Linked DNA regions of Homo sapiens: region 2 is linked to region 1. The links are contacts of gene promoters, found by promoter capture Hi-C in human tissues and cell types (Jung and others, 2019). All regions are on one chromosome and are shown on one strand. Each heading gives the region's core, a stretch centred on a gene start or on the middle of the fragment in contact. The rest is flanking DNA. Distances are from core to core; before and after follow the strand shown. Region 1 has its middle 10 kb from the start of TRR-CCT1-1. Region 2 holds the start of FADS6 (fatty acid desaturase 6).

Region 1 (3,805 bases), core at 328-2,827:
AAACAAAAAGAAACTACACACACAACCAGGTAGGAGGGCTGAGACAGGTAAGTGGGCATTTGAGCCGGGCTATGGAAAAGGCATGGGACTTTCATCAGTAGACGGGAGGCGGACATGCCATTTGAAGGGAACAATGAACACAAGAGACAAAAGAGGCTGAGGTGGAGGGGGTGACAAAGAAGGCAAAGGCACTGAATGGTGGATTCGTGCAGGGTGATCCACCATTGCAGCGGGAGGTGAACCCAGAGAGAGACCGGCTTGATGTGGAGAGCCTTGAATTCAAGTTAAGGAGTTTAGGTTCTTTTATTTTTGAGATGGAGTCTCACTCTGCCATCCAGGCTGGAGTGCAATAGCGTGATCTTGGCTCACTGCAACCTCCTTCGCCCAGGTTAAAGCGATTCTCCTGCCTCAGCTTCCCCAGTAGCTGGGGTTACAGGTGCATGCCACCATGCACAGCTAATTTTTGTATTTTTGTAGAGATGGGGTTTCACCATGTTGGCTGGGCTGCTCTTGAACTCCTGACCTCAGGTGATCCGCCCACTTCGGCCTCCCAAAGTGCTGGTATCACAGGCGTGAGCCACTGCACCCGGCAAAGGTTTTAAGAGATGTGGGTAACAGAAAGCTGTTGGGAGAAAAGCTGAGCGTTGGGAGAAAAGCTGAGTGTTGGGAGAGAAGCTGAGGCAGGGCTTGCATGTCTGCTAGACTTGCTGGCTCCTTGCTTCTAGCACTCCCATTCTCTCAAGCAGCCGTATGTTTCTCCTTCACTTGATACACTTTCTTTTCAACCCCCACATCCTCACCACCTGTTTCTTTGAGCACCAATAAATACCGTGGGCTCCCAGAGCTGGGGGTCTTCACAGCCTCAACACTGGCGATGGCTTCCTGGTGCTACTTTCTCTCTCAAACTGTCTTTTTCTAATTCCTTTGACTCCGCCGGACTTTGTTGCCCCCATGACCTGGTGTTGGGTCTGATCACCTCAACATTCCTGGCTGCCCAACGTGGGGTGACAAAGACCCTGGTGAAGGAACGCTAGAGCGTGTGAAAGCGGAGAACACATCGTCAAAGGACACCCAAAGGCGTCTAAAAGAAGCTCGGCAGGAAAGCTGAGCGCTCGGAAGAACCAGGGTAACAATGGGATAAAGTGAAAGACATTTTGCTTATTTAAATTTATTTTATTATTTTTTTTTTTTTGAGAGGAGTCTTGCTCTGTCGCCCAGGCTGGAGTGCAGCGGCGCGATCTCGGCTCACTGCAAGCTCTGCCTCCTGGGTTCAGGCCATTCTCCTGCCTCAGCCTCCCGAGTAGCTGGGACTACAGGCACCCGCCACCGCGCCCGGCTAATTTTTTGTATTTTTTTTTTTTAGTAGAGACGAGGTTTCACCGTGTTAGCCAGGACGGTCTCGATCTCCTGACCTCGTGATCCGCCCGCCTCGGCCTCCCAAAGTGCTGGGATTACAGGTGTGAGCCACCGCGCCCGGCCTTATTTAAATTTCTTAAGGCATTTATTACGAAGAGGGGGAGTGAAAGTACTCAGAATTTGTTGGCATTTATTATGAAGAGGGGGAGTGAAAGTTAGTACTCAGAATTTGTTATCACTCTTTAGTACAGTAAAGCAGTTTTGCCCATGGCTTCCGGAACAAGCGACTATGGAGTTGGATGAATGGGAGAGAATCGGCAGAGATTTTTAAAAGGCGTATAAAGAGGGAGCAGATATTCCAGTTTCTATTTGGTCATGTGGGCGCTAATAAAGGCAGCTCTTGAGCCATTTCAAACAGATGATGAGGCAGATTGAGATGAGGAAGAGGAGGATGAGTGTAAAAAACTAACTTCAGATTCTGAGTGTGAGGAACAGCTACCGGAGGAGATTAAAGAAAGGAAAACTAAAAAAAGTATGTTTTACTAGCCCGTCGGCGCCCCCTGCTAAATTAAGTGAATGGCCACCTCCTCTCTCTCCTCTTAATGGGTGAGAAGATGAATTAGCTGAAAAACTTACTACTCCTATAGTTGCAATATTAAAACCTGGAGCAATTGGTGATGCTATAGAAAATTCTATTCATAAAGCTAGAGCCGAGGGAGACCTTGAAGCATGGCAATTTCCTGTTACTATCATCCAGCAGAGAAGACAGAATACAGCTAATTGGCCACTTTTCCTTTTAAGTTACTAAAGGAATTTAAGCAAGCCATTAGTCAATACGGACCGAACTCTCCTTTTGTGCAAACTCTATTAAAAAATATGGCTCTTGATAATAGATTAATACCATGTGGCTGGGATACTTTGACAAAATCTGTTCTCACCCTATCTCAGTATTTGCAGTTTAAAACCTGGTGGGCTGATGAAGCTCAAACTCAGGCAGGGGAAAACATACAAGCACAGCCACCTGTGCCTGTTTCCTTTGAACAGTTAATGGGAGTTGGCCCTAACTGGGGTTGATTAGAGAAATCAAGCAGTAATGGAGGATGCTGCCATTGTTCAGCTGCGCTTTGTGTGCTTATGGGCATGGGAAAGGATAAATGTTACAGGCGAAAAACATCCTTCTGTCAGTTCTATCCGTCAAGGACCTAAAGAACCATATATTGATTTTATTGCTCAGCTCCAAGAGGCTGTGTATAAAGCCATTACTAATAAAACGGCTCAGGATGTTGTAATACAGCTTCCTGCATACGAAAATGCTAGTGCAGTGTCAAACTGCTATTAGACCCCTGAGAGGGACGGCTCATTTAGCTAAATATATTAAGGATTGCGATGGCATTGGAGGTAACTTACATAAGGCAACTCTTTTAGCTCAGGCTATGGCTGGATTAAGAGTAGGAAAGAATATACCCCATTTCTCAGGCCCTTGCTTTAATTGTGGTCAATTTGGACACCCAAGAAAGGAATGTAGAAAAGGAAATCAAAAGGCAAACATTACTACCATCAGTCAACAGAAAAGTCCCGGTATATGTCTCCAGTGTAAGAAAAGCAAACACTGGGCAAGTCAGTGTCATTCTAAATTTAACAAGGATGGACAACCTCTTTCAGGAAACGGGAAGAGAGGCCTGCCTCGAGCCCCTCAACAAACCAAGGCACAGCCATGCCCTTACAAACGTGCAACAATTGTCCCCCACTTCAGCAGGCAGTGCTGCCATAGACCTCTACAGCACAATTACCATCTCCTTAGGAGAGGTGAAGCCGACTGGGCTTCTGGGTCGGGTGGGGACTTGGGTAACTTTTCTGTCTACCTAAGGATTGTAAACACATCAATCAGCACTCTGTCTAGCTAAAGGTTTGTAAACGCACCAATCAGCACTGTGTAAAAACGGACCAATCACCTCTCTGTAAAATGGACCAATCAGCAGGATGTGGGTGGGGCCAAGTAAGGGAATAAAAGCTGGCCACCCAAGCCGCAGTGGCAATCCGCTGGGGTGCTGTTTCATGCTGTGGAAGCTTTGTTCTTTTGCTCTTCACAATAAATTTTGCTGCTGCTTCCTCTGGGTCTGCACTACCTTTATGAGCTGTAACACTCACCGTGAGGGTCTGTGGCTTCATTCCTGAAGTCAGCAAGGCCACGAACCCATCAGGAGGAACCAACAACTCCAGACGTGCCCCTTTAAGAGCTGTAACACTGCAAAGTTCTGTGGCTTCACTCCTGAAGTCAAGCGAGACCACAAACCCACCGGAAGGAAGAAACTCCAGACACATCTGAACATCTGAAGGAACAAACTCCGGACACACCATCTTTAAGAGCTATAACACTTACCATGAGGGTCCGCGGCTTCATTCTTGAAGTCAGCAAGACCAAGAACCCACCAGAAGGAACCAATTCCGG
Region 2 (3,805 bases), core at 345-2,844, 130 kb before region 1:
GGTGGAAGAAGGGAGGGCAAGGGTCAGGTGAGGTGGGTACTTCCTGGAGCTGACCCCGGGGAGCAGGGGGCTTCTCAGGAAGGCTAGGCCATGGCCAGGCATCAGAGGAGCATCATCCGGAGTAAGGACGCTGCCCCTTGTGGACACTGGGCCCCTCCTCCCCCTCCCTTTCTGTCTGTGGGTCACATTTTAAACCCTGACTGCAAAATCTGGAGGCCCCACTGGTTGTAACTGTGGGCCAAGACAGCGGCATACTCATCCTACAACTCTCTACCCATGGGGTGCAAAGACCCGCTCAAGGGCTTGGAGAAGTCCTCAGACACGCTGTAGTGCATACTGCACCAGTGGACCGGCATACCATCAGCTGCAGCGGCCTGCCCCCGTGGGCACATGCACAGCTGGACACACCCGCATGCTCGAACAGAAGAATGAGGCTGCCACACGGTCCCAGCAGCTGCCTGCATCCTCCTTCTCCCAGGCTCACCTCCACAAAGAAAAGCAGCCAGATCTTGCTCCAGCGTTTGGACTCGGTGAGGGCCCCATGAGTGGCCAGGTGGCTGCCCTTGACAGTGAGTGTGTAGTGGCACACACCCAAGATGGTGATGCCGGATGCAAAGACCAGGGCATTCTCCCAGCGCAGGCACAGGAAGCCTGCGTGGAGAGGAGGAAGAAGACGGGTCTTTCTCTAGCTCTGGGTGATCTGGGCCCAAATACCTCAACCCTTACCCTGGGAGCCCAGGCTAAAGTGGGCTAGGCTCTGGGGGCTGCCACTGGCCGGAGTGAGGCAGGTCCCACTGTGGCCTGAGGGGAACCAGGACTGCCCCTCCAGCGGTCCTGACTCTCCCGTGCCTGGTCCTGACTCTCCAGTGCGTGGTCCTGGGCCCCCAGCCAAAGCAATGTTGGGGCCTCAGGTACCATGGGTGTTCCAGACCAGGAAGGGTCCAGGGGAAACTCCCACCCCCTCCCCACTCACCTAGGTCCCCAAAGAACACCGTCTCCCTTCCCGGGGGTGGGGGGGCACCTCATCACTCCCGGCCACTCCCCCGCTCCTCTCAACTTTCCCTTCCACCACCCTCCTGCGCCCCCTCCTAGGGTACACAGGGCAGAACACCCCAGTCCAGACTCTCAGGTTCGGGGTGTGACCCTCCATCCTTGGGTGCGGGGCCCCGACCACCTCCGCCTCCCTGCCGCCGCCAGTCCACTCCGCAGGCTGCACTCCCACGGCTGCTGTTGCAGACCCCGCGCCGCCACCTCCGCCGCACCCCGCCCCCACCCGCAGCCCGGCCGGGACGCCGGGTCCCCGCGTTCCTCACCTGCCGGCAAGGCGAAGAGGCTGAGCGCGAGGATGGCGCAGTCCACGCCGTGGCGCTCCCACCAGGAGCTCGTCCTCACCACGTCCTGCACCAGCACCTCCAGCTCCCGCAGCAGCGCCTCGCCCCCACGGTGCGCGCTCCGCGCCGGTTCCATGGGCTCCGTAGGTTCCATGGGCTCCGTAGGTTCCATGGGCTCCGTAGGTTCCATGGGCTCCGTAGGTTCCATCGGCTCCGTGGGTTCCATGGACTCTGTGGGCTCGGGCCCGACGCGCACGGAGGACTGGAGGACTGGGGCGTGTGTCTGCGGTGCAGGCGAGGCGGGGCGGGCCGGGGCGGAGTCACGCGCCGCCTGGGGACACCCGCCCCCGGGGTCAAGGTGCGAGACACCCTGGCTCCTCTGCTGCGGGCGCTGGCGACCCAGGCCCGGCTCAGGCGCGCGACCCTGGCAGGCGGCATCAGAACCGCCGCGGAGGGAGGAGCCAGGCCGATGAGCTGAGAGTGGCTAGGCGGGGAGGCGACCCTGCGGTGAGACCCAGCCCAGGTAGTAGGGACGGAGGCGTCAGGGGCACGGAGACCCCAGTGGAGACACCCCCCACCCCCGCCCCGCCCCGAGGGCCTTCCCTGACCTCCGACCTCAAATAACTCCCTGAGTTCCCTCGGTCCCTGAGATCTGTCCGAGCATTCTCTTCCCTCGACCCTGACTATTCGTAGTGGCACTGAGCAGCTCCCCTCGTACGTGACACACATGACACATGCTGTCGTCTGTCTCTGCCAACAGACGGACCCTCAGTGCCGTAGAGACGTCCTCGTTTTGCCCAAGCTCTGTCTTCAGTACCTAGGGCAATGCTTGGCACAGAAACATCTGGGAATTCCTAGGGCAGAAAGTTCAAGGACTCCCCACTCCCCCTCCCCGTGGGTCAAGGAGTGAGAGGTCCCCTCTGAGTATGGCTTCAGCAGAGGTGACCCAGGGGAGCTGGCTCTTCAGCCCAATAATGTTTTGGGTGAGACGGGTAGCTACAGGGAATACACATCCGGAGGTCATCATTCTGGGTGGGCAGGCAGACCAGCCGGGTCCCGCTGCCATTCCACTCCCTCAAGAGCGCCCAGGCCTGAACCCAGGGCCAGGGCCTCAGCCAAGCCCTCTGAGATGTGGGAGCCACACCTGTCACATCCCCTTCCCATCAGCCCAGGCCCCCACCCCGCACTGCTGGAGATGGCCTTGGTCCTCAGGGGATAAGCCTCTGTCCTCTACAAACTCCTCTTCCCTGCTTCTGAATACCCTTTCTCTTTTCTTTTTTGTTTTACTTACTCCCAGTTTCATGACTTAAGGGATCTGGTATGGTGAGGACAGTGGCATCTTTAGCAGGAGACCCCTAGGAAAGAGAAGTTGGGTGGGTGGGGTAAGGGAGAGACAGTCAGGGATCCTAATGACATTGATTCCTTTTGACTCCTTCCTGGTGTTTTCCTTCAGGAATTCTTTTTTTTCTCTCTTTGTTTAGAAACAGGGTCTCGCTCTATCACTCAGGCTGGAGTGCAGTGGCACAATCACAGCTCACTGCAGCCTCGATTTCCTAGGCTCAAGTGATCCTCCCCCTCAGCCTCCTGAGTAGCTTGGGACTACAGGCACACACGGGGACCACTAAGCCTGGCTAATCATGAATTCGTATGAGCTTATTCCTTTAATTCTTTATCAAAGAATAAGATTTATTTACCAGCTCAGTATTCTAAGGGACTGACAATTTAATAAACCAATTCTCACCAAGTGCACGTGCGCATATACCTGCCCCGCAGGTTATCATTGACTTTCACATACTGATGAGGTTTTGTGGATTCCCCACATCCCTCAAGGATGGCATCATCTAAGGCCAGGCGCGGTGGCTCACACCTGTAATCCCAGCACTTTGGGAGGCCAAGACAGGCAGATCACTTGAGGTCAGGAGTTCGAGACCTGCCTGGCCAACATGGTGAAACCCCGGCTCTACTGAAAATACAAAAATTAGCTGGACGTGGTGGCAGGAGCCTGTAATACAAGCTATTCGGGAGACTGAGGCAGAAGACTCGCTTGAAACCAGGAGGCAGAGGTTGCAGTGAGCCAAGTTCGCACCATTGCACTCCAGCTTGGGGGACAAGAGCAAAACTCCATCTACAAAAAAAAAAAAAAAAATAGGATGGCCTCATCTTCATTTAATCAACGGAGGCCCCAAGAGATGAACTGATCCGCCCAGCACTCCACAGTTAGTAAATGGCAGAATTAGAGCTGAATCCAGGAGCTTCTCCAAATGCAATGGTTTCCATGAGAGATTTTCTTTTTTTTTTTTTTTTGAGACAGAGCCTCGCTCTATCACTAGGCTGGAGTGCAGTGGCGCGATCTCCACTCACTGCAACCTCCAACTCCCTGGTTCAAGTGATTCTCCTGCCTCAGCCTCCCGAGTAGCTGGGATTACAGGCACGCACCACCACACCCAGCTAATTTTTGTATTTTTAGTAGAGAC

The links. Contacts are between HindIII fragments. The study calls those that stand out against the background at their distance.
Region 2: a contact is called between the fragment with the promoter of FADS6 here and a fragment that was not itself captured in region 1, in 1 of the 25 tissues and cell types used here (thymus).

Annotation. Positions count from the first base shown.
Region 1 is chr17:75,021,931-75,025,735 of GRCh38, forward strand. No RefSeq gene overlaps it. Among named protein-coding and RNA genes, the nearest start is that of TRR-CCT1-1, 10 kb to the right of the region's middle. RefSeq lists a silencer at 3,261-3,418. The HindIII fragment of the contact is 7,781 bases long and covers 1-3,805 here.
Region 2 is chr17:74,892,039-74,895,843 of GRCh38, forward strand. FADS6 (fatty acid desaturase 6) reads right to left here and starts at 1,595. Exons shown (of 6, transcript NM_178128.6): 1 at 1,314-1,595; 2 at 485-651. The coding sequence starts at 1,557. The HindIII fragment of the contact is 12,637 bases long and covers 1-3,805 here.